Linked DNA regions of Homo sapiens: regions 1, 2, 4 and 5 are each linked to region 3. The links are contacts of gene promoters, found by promoter capture Hi-C in blood cells and fetal thymus (Javierre and others, 2016). All regions are on one chromosome and are shown on one strand. The core of a region is centred on a gene start or on the middle of the fragment in contact, and the rest is flanking DNA. Distances in the headings are between cores, read along the strand shown.

Evidence for each region. Contacts are between HindIII fragments. The CHiCAGO score rates a contact against its expected background, and 5 or more counts as called.
Region 1: a fragment that was not itself captured here is called in contact with the fragment with the promoter of TTLL11 in region 3 in 1 of 17 cell types (endothelial precursors); the score reaches 6.1 in endothelial precursors.
Region 2: a contact is called between a fragment that was not itself captured here and the fragment with the promoter of TTLL11 in region 3, in 9 of 17 cell types (total CD8 T cells, non-activated CD4 T cells, naive CD8 T cells and 6 more). The highest score is 8.7, in total CD8 T cells.
Region 4: a fragment that was not itself captured here is called in contact with the fragment with the promoter of TTLL11 in region 3 in 1 of 17 cell types (total B cells); the score reaches 5.0 in total B cells.
Region 5: a contact is called between a fragment that was not itself captured here and the fragment with the promoter of TTLL11 in region 3, in 1 of 17 cell types (naive CD4 T cells). The highest score is 5.3, in naive CD4 T cells.

Annotation. Positions count from the first base shown.
Region 1 is chr9:121,537,564-121,540,263 of GRCh38, reverse strand. All of the region lies in intron 1 of LOC107987016 (a long non-coding RNA gene), which reads left to right. Among named protein-coding and RNA genes, the nearest start is that of GGTA1, 39 kb to the right of the region's middle. The HindIII fragment of the contact is 2,907 bases long and covers 1-2,700 here.
Region 2 is chr9:122,834,864-122,837,563 of GRCh38, reverse strand. It overlaps the pseudogene KRT18P67. Among named protein-coding and RNA genes, the nearest start is that of PDCL, 7.6 kb to the right of the region's middle. The HindIII fragment of the contact is 806 bases long and covers 864-1,669 here.
Region 3 is chr9:122,091,941-122,094,640 of GRCh38, reverse strand. It overlaps TTLL11 (tubulin tyrosine ligase like 11), which reads left to right and starts at 1,333. Exons shown (of 9, transcript NM_001139442.2): 1 at 1,333-1,954. The coding sequence starts at 1,493. LOC124902263 (a long non-coding RNA gene) reads right to left here and starts at 509. Exons shown (of 2, transcript XR_007061757.1): 1 at 469-509. RefSeq lists enhancers at 1,153-1,342, 1,092-1,805 and a silencer at 1,693-1,742. The HindIII fragment of the contact is 9,416 bases long and covers 1-2,700 here.
Region 4 is chr9:122,785,884-122,788,583 of GRCh38, reverse strand. No RefSeq gene overlaps it. Among named protein-coding and RNA genes, the nearest start is that of OR5C1, 1.7 kb to the left of the region's middle. The HindIII fragment of the contact is 426 bases long and covers 1,070-1,495 here.
Region 5 is chr9:122,851,376-122,854,075 of GRCh38, reverse strand. RC3H2 (ring finger and CCCH-type domains 2) reads left to right here. Exons shown (of 21, transcript NM_001100588.3): 18 at 1-124; 19 at 2,640-2,700. Among named protein-coding and RNA genes, the nearest start is that of PDCL, 24 kb to the right of the region's middle. RefSeq lists an enhancer at 1,939-2,700. The HindIII fragment of the contact is 6,549 bases long and covers 1-2,700 here.

The sequences.
Region 1 (2,700 bases), core at 94-2,593, 550 kb after region 3:
TTCATGTTTCACTCCTTCAGAATCATATTCCCTTTGTCTTCCAAAAGAATACTTTCTTTTCAAATGTGTATCTGAATCTTTTTTCACACAAATACTTTATTTTGTTTACTGAAACTCTCTCTGTTTGTTTTGTTTTGTGTTTTGAGACAAGCTCTCACTCCGTTGCCCAGGCTGGAATGCAGTGGCCTGGTCACAGGTCACTGCAGCCTTGACTTCCCAGGTTCAAGTGATCCTCCCGCCTCAGCCTCCCAAGTCGCTGGGACTACAGGCACACACCATTGCACCCAGCTAACTTTTTAAATTTTTGTAGAGACAAGGTCTCACTATGTTGCCCAGGCTGGTCTCAAATTCCTGGGCTCAGGTGATCCTCCTGCCTCAGCCTCCCAAAGTGCTGGGATTATCGGCATGAGCCACTGCGCCTGGCCTCTCCTTGTTTTCAAGATGCATATCTGAATTATTTTTCAAATCTGTGTTACAAGGGTCTCCCTCCCCTGTACATCTCAACATGAGCTCCAGAAGGAGGTGGTGAGTGTATGTATGTGTGTGCGTGTGTGTGTGTGAAATCATTTATAAAGAGAACGTGTAAAACTGATAGGCTGAGAACGAACATGAGTTGTCACCCAGCCATGGCTGGTGGATGTTCCCCGCATTCCTTTGTGCCCAAGTAGACCATAAAAGCCATCTTCAAAATTACCTGAGTTGGCCAGGATTACAGGTGGCTCACACCTATAATCCCAGCTCTTTGGGAGGCTGGGGTGGGAGGACAGCTTGAGGCCAGGAATTTGAGACCAGCCTGGGCAACACAGTGAGACCCTTCTCTTTATAAAATAAAATTAAGAAGTTAGAAAAAAAAAATCCTGGCCGGGCATGGTGGCTCATGCCTGTAATCCCAGCACTTTGGGAGGTCGAGGTGGGTGGATCACCTGAGGTCAGGAGTTCGAGACCAGCCTGGCCAACACGGTGAAACCCCGTCTCTACTAAAAATACAAAAATTAGCTGGGCGTGGTGGTGTGCACCTGTAATCCCAGCTACTCGGGAGGCTGAGGCAGGAGAATCGCTTGAACCTGGGAGGTGGAGGTTGCAGTGAGCAGAGATCAGGCCACTGCACTCCAGCCGGGGTGACAGAGTGAGACTCCATCTCAAAAAAAAAAAAAAAAAATCCTGAGTCTGTGGTCTGTTTCCCCCACAGTAGATCCTTATGTTCTGCACTTTAGCTTTGTTCCTGGATCCTCTGTGCTCCCACCCTTGTGCTACTTTCTTGTTTTCCCCCTACTCTTTTTTTCTGCTCTGGTTGTGTATCACGCATCCTTGGAAGCTGCCTGAGGTCCTCTCTGCAGCAAGGCAGGGAGCAAACCAACCAATCAACCAACCAATCAGACAATGTACAACTGGATTGCTGGGCCCTCTGGCCTGGGTCAGAGAGGCTGAAGCCACGACCGGGTCCTCGTCTTTTTTTCCTTTATTCTTTTTTTTGAGACAGAGTCTTGCTCTGTCACCCAAGCTGGAGTGCAATGGCACAATCTTGGCTCACTGCAAACTCCGCTTCCCGGGTTCAAGTGATTCTCCTTCCTCAGCCTGCCGAATAGCTGGGATTATAGGCATGTGCCATCATGCCTGGCTAATTTTTGCATTTTTTGTAGAGACAGGGTTTCACCATGTTGGCCAGGCTGGTCTCAAACTCCCGACCTCAGGTGATCCGCTCCCCTCGGCCTGCCAAAGTTCTGGGATTACAGATGTGAGCCACTGTGCCTGGCCAGGTCCTCATCTTTCTAGTACCAGCCAGAAGGTGGCATTAGAGCAGCTCCCAAATGTCATGCAAGTGTCAGAGCCAGGGCAACCTCAGGTATGGATGGGATAGTGGTTGCAGATGGGCCTTGAGGACTATAGAGGGAGGCGAGCAGGGCAGAAGAGAGCTGAGGAACAGCAGCAGTCTGCAGGCTGACACCATCCTCAGGCCTCCGGGGCAAATTAATGTCAGACAGGCCTTCTAGGTCAATGTCAGGAGCGAGAGAGAGAAAAGATGGAATGTGCTCAGTGCCGGACATGGAGGTGCTCAGGAAATGTTGGAACTCTCCTTCCCCATGTTTTCCTGGAGGATTGGATGGCTTTGCCCTTTAAAAGGCCAGTATCAGGCCAGGTGTGGTGGCTCACAACTGTAATCCCAGCACTTTGGGAGGCCGAGGCGGGCGGATCACCCGAGGTCAGGAGTTTGAGACTACCCTGACTAACATGGAGAAACCCTGTCTCTACTAAAAATACAAAATTAGCTGGACATGGTGGCGCATGCCTGTAATCCCAGCTACTCAGGAGGCTGAGGCAGGAGAATTGCTTGAACCCGGGAGGCGGAGGTTGCAGTGAGCCGAGATGGCACCATTGCACTCCAGCCTGGGCAACAAGAGCGAAACTCCATCTCAAAAAAAATGAGATAAAATAAAATAAAAGCCAGTGCCTGGAGCCCAACCCAGGTCCGGTCCATGCTGTTACCACCATATTTCTCCCTTGGCATCGTGAGCCCACCCTCTGCAGGACCGACCCCTGAGAGACAAGGCCAGTCCTTTTCTCTTGCAGCTGCTTGTTCTGTGGTGAGATTCAGTGGGTGGGAAGAGATGGTAGGAATAGCTGCAGCTTGTCCCACTTTTCATTGCCCTTCTTGTTTTTCTTCTCCCAGAAGAGGAAGTCAGTGGGAGGGGCTCTTTGCCG
Region 2 (2,700 bases), core at 17-2,516, 740 kb before region 3:
TGAAGCTCATGCTGTCTGGAGAGGAGAGAGAGAGGACAGGAGTCAGGCTTTGCTGACCGTATGTGTGTTTTAGACAGGGTCTCACTCTGTTGCCCAGAGCAGTGGCGCAATCATGGCTCACTGCAGCCTTGACCTCTGGGGCTAAAGTGATTCTCCCACCTCAGCCTCCTGAGTAGCTGGGACTACAGGTGCACACCACCATGCCTGGCTAATTTTGTTTTTTTAATTTTCTGTAGAGACAGGTTTCACGATGTTGCCCAGTCTCAAGGATTATTTTGGAATTGTAAGATTTAATATCTGCCCTGCTGAGTTTCAGACTTGCATAGGGCCTGTAGCCCCTTTATTTCGGTCAGTTTCTCCCTTTTGGAATGGGAATGTTTACCCAATGCCTGTACTACCGTTGTTTATTGGAAGTAAATAACTGGTTTTGATTTTACAGGTTCATAGGTGAAAGAAAGTGAGTCTCAGAGAAGACTTAGGACTTTTGATTTGATGTTGGAATGAGTTAAGACTTTGGGGGATTAACGAGAAGGGATTATTGTATTTTGCAACGTGAGGAGGACATGAGATGTGGGGGATGGGTGCCAGGGGAGGAATGATATGATTTGGATATTTGTCCCCTCCAAATCTCATGTTGAAATGTGACCTCGTGTTGGACGTGGGGCCTAGTGGGACGTATTGGATCATGGGGATGGATCCCTCATAAATGGCTTAGTGCCATCCCCTTGGTGATGAGTTCTTGCTCAGTTCATGCTAGATCTGGTTGTTTAAAAGAGGGTGACACCTCCCCTACCCCCACCTTGCTTCTGCTCTCACCACGTGATATGCTGGCGCCTCTTTGCTTTCTGTCATGATTGTAAGCTTCCTCAGGCCCTCACCAGGAGCTAAGCAGCTATTGGTGCCATGCCTGTACAACCTGCGGAACTGTGAGCCAAATTAAACCTCTTTTCTTTATCAGTATCGGTATTTCTTTATGTAGAAATACCAGTCTCAGGTTTTTTTTTTTTTGTTTTTTGTTTTTCTTTTTTTTGAGACAGTCTTGCTCTGTTGCCAGGCTGGAGTACAGTGGCGTTATCTTGGCTCACTGCAACCTCCGCCTCCCGGGTTCAAGCGATTCTTACGCGTTAGCCTCCTGAGTAGCTGGGACTATAGGCGCCCACCACCATGCCCAGCTAATTTTTGTATTTTTAGTAGAGACGGGGTTTCACCATGTTGGCCAGGATGGCCTCAATCTCCTGACCTCGTGATCCACCCCCCTCGGCCTCCCAAAGTGCTGGGATTACAGGCGTGAGCCACCGCGCCCGGCCATCTCAGTTATTTCTTTATAGCATCACAAGAAAGGACTAATACAGCTACTGTTAGTTTCTGGCCACATGAGCTTCTCTGTAGTGCAGCTCACAATATGGTAGAGTGGCTCATCCAAGCAGCAAGCAATACAGGCAACAGAGAGTGAGAGAGAGAGAGTGTGTGCTAAAAAGACGTCACAGTCTTTTATAACCAAATTTTGGAAGCAACATCCCATTACTTTTGTGGTATTCTAATCCTTAGAAGCAAGGGAAAGGGATTACACAGGGCATGAATACCAAGAGGCGGGGAACTTTGGGAGTAGTATCAGTCTGTGTCCAATCAGGAGGTAGAAACTACACAGTACGTTATATGGGGTAAAGCTTAATATAAAGAATCATTAAATGCTAATAAATGACTACCAGCTAAAAGTAAATTCCACATAGTACTCTATAGGTTAGGGAGAGTACCTAAGGAAACACAAACTTGGAAAGGGGTCCACTTCTCAAGGCTGAGGGTCACACCTCGGAGAAGGTATAGTTCAGCCCAGAGGTCCGCTAGTTGGCCCAGGCTGGAACTAGTCACTGGCAGACAGAAAGCTACTCTCCAGGCAGCAGGAGAGGTACACAGGAGCCTGCAGAGAGAGTTGGCTGGTGGGGGACAGGAAACTGGTAGGCGACAGGAAGGAAGCCTTCAGAAAGCTAATTTTCGCATTGAGAGGGCCACAGGAAAATTGTTGCTGGTCTAGACTGAGGTTGCAATGTCACCAAGGGACCATATGTGCTGGACACATGGCTGGGAAAGAGCTCCCCTGGATGTCATTACATCCACATCACTGACCTACCACGAAACTGTGGGAAACAGTAGGAGAGCCCCTCCTCCTGCAATGCCCCTCCAGTGCCCTCTACTGAGAAAGCTCATCACTGTGCTCACTGCAAAGGAGAAATGCTTCACTGAATTCTATCCATTATTGAAGAGCATATATTCAAGGGCGAATTGGGAGCAGAGGGGCAATAAATTGATCATTAGCCTAGGAGCGATTTTAGAAGCTGCCTGCCATAGCCCTATAACTACCAAAGAAATTGAATTAATTATGAAAAACCTTCCCACAAAGAAAACTCCAGGCCCAGATCGCTTCACAGGTTTATTCTATTATTAATAAATATTTAAGGAGAAATAATGCCAATTTTACAGAAGCTACTTCAGAAAGTGGAAGAGGGAACTTACAACTAGTTTTATTAGATAAACATAACCACACAGTACATTACAAAAAAAGAAAATCGTAGGTTAATATCTCTCATGAACATAGATGCAAAAATCCTTAAAATGTTAGTAAATCTAGCTATGTATATCAGGTATAATACATCAAGTCCAAATAGTGTTTATTTCAGGAATGCAAGGTTGCTTTAGCATTTG
Region 3 (2,700 bases), core at 84-2,583:
ACTAAAAATGGTTAAAATGGCAAATTTTGTTATATTTTACCACAACAAAAAAAGTGATATAAGTAAAAGCAGTCAGGCTGGACGTGGTGGCTCACGCTTGTAATCTCAGCACTTTGGGAGGCTGAGGCGGGTGGATCATCTGAGGTCGGGAGTTAGAGACCAGCCTGGCCAAGATGGTGAAACCCCGTCTATACTAAAAATACAAAAAATTAGCCGGGCATGGTGGCCGGCTCCTGCAATCCCAGCTACTCACAAGGCTGAGGCAGGAGAATTGCTTGAAGCCGGGAGGCGGAGGCTGCAATGAGCCGAGATCACACCATTGCATCCCAGCCTGGGCGACAAGAGCGAAACTCTGTAACAACATCAACAACAACAACAAAACAAAAACAAAAACAAAAAAGAAAACAAGAGACGCGGTGGTTCTGCTTGTAATCCTAGTACTTTGGGAGGCCGAGGCTGGCAGATTACCTGAGGTCAGGAGTTTGAGAACAGCCTCGGCAACATGGCGAAACCACGTTTCTACGAGAAACACAAAACTTAGCCGGGAGTGGTGGTACATTCGTGTAGTCTCAGCTACTCGGGAGGTTGGGGTGGGAGGATCCCTTGAGCTCTGGAAGTTGAGGCTGCTGCAGTGAGCCGGGATCGCGCCACTGCACTCCAGCCTGGGCGACAGAGAGAGACCCTGTCTAAAAAAAAAAAAAAAAAAGAAAAAAAGAAAAGAAAAAGAAAAAATCGTTAATATCCTCAACTCGAGTGGGAATCTATAGGGGGCTTACCCATGCCCATGACTTCCCCATCCCATCGGGAGCTCCCTGAGAACAGGGAAAAGTGCCTCCCCTCTTATCTGGGGGCGCTCAAAGGACCAGCAGAGGGTTTCTTCAGCGGAACACTCTCTGCTCCCCTAGGGCCTGGGCTGCTCACATCCATCGCACTGAGGAGGGTCCCATCCATTGCACTGAGGAGGGTCCCATCCATTGCACTGAGGAGGGTCCCACTGGGGGGCTCCTCCTCCGTCCTATCGAGAGTTATCCCAGCGAGTGTTGGCGGGGACTGAGCCTCCTGCTTGAGGTAGTTGTTTTTACTCCCAGTCCCCAGGCTCACGAGCCCCACGCGCGCTCAATCTGCCCTCCCGCTTCTCCTCGCCACTCCGAGTTCTGCGCCCTCGAGATCCAGCGCATCCGCGGGGTGGGCGGGTCCTGGCGGCTCTTTGCCCTCTTCCAACATGGCCGCCGCTGCCTCTGTGACAGGCAGGGTCACGTGGGCAGCCTCGCCTATGAGGTCGCTGGGGCTCGGCCGGCGATTGTCCCTTCCCGGACCCCGTCTCGATGCGGTGACTGCCGCTGTCAACCCGAGCCTGAGCGATCATGGCAACGGGCTCGGGCGGGGAACGCGTGGCAGCGGCTGCAGCGGCGGCAGTTTGGTGGCGGACTGGGGCGGCGGAGCGGCGGCGGCGGCGGCGGTGGCACTGGCACTGGCCCCGGCCCTGAGCACCATGCGGCGGGGCAGCTCCGAGAGCGAGCTGGCGGCCCGGTGGGAGGCGGAGGCGGTGGCTGCGGCCAAAGCGGCGGCCAAAGCTGAGGCCGAGGCCACAGCGGAGACGGTGGCGGAACAGGTCCGCGTGGACGCGGGCGCGGCCGGGGAACCGGAGTGCAAGGCAGGGGAGGAGCAGCCCAAGGTCCTGGCCCCGGCCCCGGCGCAGCCCAGTGCGGCTGAGGAGGGGAACACCCAGGTCCTTCAGCGGCCGCCGCCCACGCTGCCCCCGTCCAAGCCGAAGCCGGTGCAGGGCCTCTGCCCGCACGGGAAGCCCCGGGACAAGGGCCGAAGCTGCAAGCGGAGCTCGGGCCACGGTTCCGGCGAGAACGGCTCCCAGCGGCCGGTCACCGTGGACAGCTCCAAGGCCAGGACCTCCCTGGATGCCCTGAAGATCAGCATCCGCCAGCTCAAGTGGAAGGAGGTGAGGCCCGGCCCGACCCGGCCGCGTGGGCACAGTGGGGTGGACAGGACGACCTCAGAGGTCTCGGCACGGCCCAGGTCAGGTCGGCGGGCGAGGGCTGAGCTCCTGCGGTGCACCACGCTCGGGCCTGCTTGTCAGCCGCAAAGTGCTCATCCTTCAAGGCCTACCCCCCAAAATCACTTCCTCCAAGAGGGCCCCCCAGACCCCTCCAGGTCAAGTTAGCCACTCACTCCTCTGCCTCCCTGCAGCTCTTTTTATGTCTCAGCCATCAGCATTTGCCTCTGCTTGTAGATATGTGTACGTCTGTCTCCTCCACCAGCTTGTAAGCCCCTGGGGCCCCGGACCCGCTCTCTCACTTCTTCATTGAAGTTATATTTGTTTAGCACTTGCTGTGTGACTCTTGGGCAGAGGAACACTTTTTATTTTGGAGGCAGACAGGCCTAGGGTCTCACTACACTTTGCTACTTAGCTGTGTGACCTTGAGTAAGTTGCTTCACCTCTTCAGCCTATTACCTTCTCTGTAAAGTGAGGCCAATTATACTTATCTCATCATCTTGTTAGCATTAGAAGACTCACTACTTAGTGTTTTATAGCACAAGTCTGCAATAAATGGTAACTTACGTTACCACCTTCTCCTTTCTCTCTTCTTCCACCATCATCACCATCACCACCACCAGCACCACCACTGTCCTCATGATCAGTGGTATAAAATCAGGCACTGTATTTTATATTCCAGGCTTGGCTTA
Region 4 (2,700 bases), core at 33-2,532, 690 kb before region 3:
ATGTGCCACCGTGCCTGGCTAATTTTATATTTTTAGTAGAGATGGAGTTTCTCCATGTTGGTCAGGCTGGTCTCGAACTCCCAACTTCAGGTGATCCGCCCACCTCAGCCTCCTGAAGTGCTGGGATTACAGGCATGAGCCACTGTACCCGGCCCGTCTTTTTTTCTTTTTTCTTTTCTTTTCTTTTCTTTTTTTTGAGATGGAGTCTTGTTTTGTTGCCCAGGCTGGCGTGCAGTGGTGCAATCTTGGGTCACTGCAACCTCCGCCTCCTGGGTTCAAGTGACTCTCCTACCTCAGCCTCCCGAGTAGCTGGGACTACAGGTGCCCGCCACCATGCCCGGCTAATTTTTGTATTTTTTAAGTAGAGGTAGGGTTTCACCATGTTGGTGGTCAGGCTGGTCTTCAACTCCTGATCTCAAGTCTGCCTGCCCCAGCTTCCCAAAGTGTTGGGATTACAGGTGTGAGCCACCACGCCCAGCCTTTTTTTTTTTTTTTTTAAAGAGACACAAGGTCTCACTATGTTGCCCAGGCTGAACTAAAATTCTTGGGCTTAAGTGATCCTCCTCCCACCTCAGCCTCCCAAGCAGCTGGGATTATAGGCATGCTCCACCACACCCACAGGGGTCTTGTCCCTCTTATTCACTTTTGTGTCTACAGCACTGAGAGCATTGCCTAGCACATAGCTGGTGCTCAAAAAAGATTTGTTAAATGAATGAATGGGATGATATTTAGTGTCCAGCCAATGATTGAAAACTTTGTGACTCTATATGCATTCTCCTCTCCAGTTTTCCAGGTAAGAAAAGAGACAGTGGAATGAGCAGAAATAATCTTCAGATCCAACGGGCACCTGGCCATGGCTTTTGAGGTTTGCTAGTAGGGACATCTTTCCTTTGGAGTAAGATCGGAGAAAGGAGTAGCCTGGTATCTTGCGAAAACAGTGGGGAGTAGAAAGAACAGAAAATGTGAATATATTCCTGAGCTGAATTCTTGGCCTCTCTGAGCCTCAATGTTCTCATCTGGATAATGGGGGAAAGCTGCAAGGATTCGATGAGATAATGCATGTAAAGCTTCTCACACAGGGCCTAGCACACGCAGGCATTTAACAAAGGCCCTGCGAATGGAAATAAATTGAACTGGATGCTCTGGCTCCAAACTGGAAGGAAGCAACTTTATGGCAATCAAAAGTAGTATAATTCCCAGAAAATGCAATGTTGCTTCACACTCCTGTGCCTTGCATTTGTCCTCTTTGCCTGGAACCCATTTCCTCCTTTTGTGTTTGGTAAAAAGTTTCTCCAGTGTGAAGCCTTCCCTGATCTGTCCCTTAAAACTAAACATTTTTCTTGTCTGTGGCCTGCTGCACTGGAGCATACAGTAGTTCCCCCTTATCTATGGGGAATACGTTCCAAGACCCCCTGTGGATGTGTGAAATCACAGATCGTACTGAACCCTATATATGTGATTTTTTTCCCTATACATTCATATCCATGATAAAGCTTAATTTATAAATTAGGCATAGTAAGGGATAACAACAACAATAATAACATAGAACAATTATAACAATGTACTATAATACAAGTTAGGTGAATATGGTCTCTCTCTCTGTCCCTCAAAATATCTTACTTTTATATATATATATATATATATATATTTTTTTTTTTTTTGTTTTGTTTTGTTTTGTTTTGTTTTGTTTTTGTTTTTTTTTTTTTTGAGATGGAGTCTCACTCTGTCACCCAGGCTGGAGTGCAGTGGTGTGATCTCGGCTCACTGCAACCTCCACCTCCTAGGTCCAAGTGATTCTCCTGCCTCAGCCTCCTGAGTGGCTGGGACTACAGGTGTGTGCTACCATGCCCAGCTAATTTTTTTGTATTTTTAGTAGAGATGGGGTTTCACCACATTGGCCAGGTTGGTCTCGAACTCCTGACCTCAGGTGATTCGTCTGTCTCGGCTTCCCAAAGTGTTGGGATTACAGGTGTGAGCCACTGCACCCAGCCTGTTTTTAATAGTTTCGGGTCACAGTTGACTGCAGGTAACTGAAACTGCAGAAAGCAAAACTGTGGGTAAAGGGGAACAACTGCTGTACCTCTCTCATGCTGCTTCACCATTCTATTGCAAATATCTTTTACATGTGTGTCTCCTGTGAACTTTGAGCTCCTTGATTCAATATTCATTCAACAAAGTTTTATTGAGCATTACTGTGTGCTAAGAATGCCCCATAATTCATTTTTGTATCTCCAGGGTGAGGTATATAATCAGAGCTCAAAAAATGTTAGTTGAGTCCATAACACAGTGAACAAGAGTACAGACATTAGCAGCATGAACACTTGCTTTTGAGTCCTAGTTCCACAACTTTCTGGTGTGTAACTTCAGGCAAGTCACTTCACCTCCCTTAACTTTGGTTTTCTCCTTGCAAAGTAGGAATCATAATATCTCTGTGGAGGTTTTTAAGAGGCAATAGGTGTGCAGGAAGGGGCCCGGAGCTGAATAAATTCTTCTTCCCCTCCTTTTAAGAGAAGTTTAGATGTTTGGGACTTACCTGTGCCCAGTGAGGATGGTGAAAATCTCCTACAAAGCACAAATTGGATGAAAAATTTTGACAATATCACGTTGGTGAGGTTGTGCTTGTGGAAATGTAAACTGGGACATTTCCGACCACTGTGCACGCCCCAGTGTCTTAAGCTACTCAGTTTGCTATAACAAAAT
Region 5 (2,700 bases), core at 186-2,685, 760 kb before region 3:
CTCATTACTTCTTCAGAGAGAGGCCAATGCTTTGGCCATGCAACAGAAGTGGAATTCCCTGGATGAAGGCCGTCACCTTACCTTAAACCTTTTAAGCAAGGAAATTGAACTAAGAAATGGAGAGGTAAAGAAACTGAACCTTTCGGCTTCATGCTTAATGTATTTGTTTTCTGCTGCTGCATCTTGGTTATACCATTACTGAGTGCATTTTGGTGTGCCTATCTCTGATGGATGATTGATTGCTTTTAAAACTTATAACAGAAATAAAATTGTAATCCCAGATTTCTTAAATAATTCTTTAACTAGATCATCGGGATTTTTGTTTTTTTGAGATGGAATCTTGCTCTATCGCCTGGAGTGCAATGGCACGATCTTGGCTCACTGCAGCCTCTGGCTCTCAGGTTCAAGCGATTCTCCTGCCTCAGCTTCCCGAGTAGCTGGGATTACAGGCACCCACCACCATGCCCAGCTAATTTTTGTGTTTTTAGTAGAGACAGGGTTTCACCATGTTGGCTAAGCTGGTCTTGAACTCCTGACCTCAAGTGATCTGCTCGCCTCACCTTCCCAAAGTGCTAGGATTACAGGTGTGAGCCCCCGTGCCTGGCTGATCATTGGGATTTTTTACTTTAATTTAAAAGGGAAACCCCAGGTTCCACAGGTATAAAATCAGTATTTTTCTTTTTTTTTTTTTTTTTTTATTGATCATTCTTGGGTGTTTCTCACAGAGGGGGATTTGGCAGGGTCATAGGACAATAGTGGAGGGAAGGTCAGCAGATAAACAAGTGAACAAAGGTCTCTGGTTTTCCTAGGCAGAGGACCCTGCGGCCTTCCGCAGCGTTTGTGTCCCTGGGTACTTGAGATTAGGGAGTGGTGATGACTCTTAATGAGCATGCTGCCTTCAAGCATCTGTTTAACAAAGCACATCTTGCACCGCCCTTAAGCCATTTAACTCTGAGTGGACACAGCACATGTTTCAGAGAGCACAGGGTTGGAGGTAAGGTCACAGATCAACAGGATCCCAAGGCAGAAGAATTTTTCTTAGTACAGAACAAAATGAAAAGTCTCCCATGTCTACTTCTTTCTACACAGACACGGCTACCATCCGATTTCTCAATCTTTTCCCCACCTTTCCCCCCTTTCTATTCCACAAAACCGCCATTGTCATCATGGCCCGTTCTCAATGAGCTGTTGGGCACACCTCCCAGACGGGGTGGTGGCTGGGCAGAGGGGCTCCTCACTTCCCAGTAGGGGCGGCCGGGCAGAGGCGCCCCTCACCTCCCGGATGGGGCGGCTGGCCAGGCGGGGGGCTGACCCCCCCACCTCCCTCCCGGACGGGGCGGCTGGCCGGGCAGAGGGGCTCCTCACTTCCCAGTAGGGGCGGCAGGGCAGAGGCGCCCCTCACCTCCCGGACAGGGCGGCTGGCCGGGTTGGGAGCTGACCCCTCCACCTCCCTCCCGGTCAGGGCGGCTGGCCGGGCCGGGGGCTGACCCCCACACCTCCCTCCCGGACGGGGCGGCTGGCCGGGCGGGGGGCTGACCCCCCCACCTCCCTCCCGGACGGGGCGGCTGGCTAGGCAGAGGGGCTCCTCACTTCCCAGTAGGGGCGGCCGGGCAGAGGCGCCCCTCACCTCCCGGACGGGGCGGCTGGCCAGGCGGGGGGCTGACCCCCCCACCTCCCTCCCGGACGGGGCGGCTGCCGGGCGGAGACGCTCCTCACTTCCCAGACGGGGTGGCTGCCAGGCAGAGAGGCTCCTCACTTCTCAGACGGGGCGGCTGCCGGGCGGAGAGGCTCCTCACTTCTCATACGGGGCGGCTGCCGGGCGGAGGGTCTCCTCACTTCTCAGACGGGGCGGCCGGGCAGAGACGCTCCTCACCTCCCAGACGGGGTGGCGGCCGGGCAGAGGCATTCCTCACATCCCAGACAGGGCGGCGGGGCAGAGGCGCTCCCCACATCCCAGACGACGGGCGGCCGGGCAGAGACGCTCCTCACTTCCTAGATGTGATGGCGGCCGGGAAGAGGCGCTCCTCACTTCCCAGATGGGATGGCGGCCGGGCAGAGACGGTCCTCACTTTCCAGACTGGGCAGCCAGGCAGAGGGGCTCCTCACATCCCAGACGATGGGCGGCCAGGCAGAGACGCTCCTCACTTCCCAGACGGGGTGGCGGCCGGGCAGAGGCTGCAATCTCGGCTTTTTGGGAGGCCAAGGCAGGCGGCTGGGAGGTGGAGGTTGTAGCGAGCCGAGATCACGCCACTGCACTCCAGCCTGGGCGCCATTGAGCACTGAGTGAACCAGACTCCGTCTGCAATCCCGGCACCTCGGGAGGCCGAGGCTGGCAGATCACTCGTGGTTAGGAGCTGGAGACCAGCCCGGCCATCACAGCGAAACCCCGTCTCCACCAAAAAAATACGAAAACCAGTCAGGCGTGGCGGCGCGCGCCTGCAATTGCAGGCACTCTGCAGGCTGAGGCAGGAGAATCAGGCAGGGAGGTTGCAGTGAGCCGAGATGGCAGCAGTATAGTCCAGCTTCGGCTCGGCATGAGAGGGAGACCATGGAAAGAGAGGGAGAGGGAGACCATGGGGAGAGGGAGACCATGGGGAGAGGGAGAGGGAGAGGGAGAGCAAAATCAGTATTTTTCTTAGTTACAGAGTGATTATACAGAAGATGCAACAGATACTAAACCTGATAGGGATATCGAGTTAG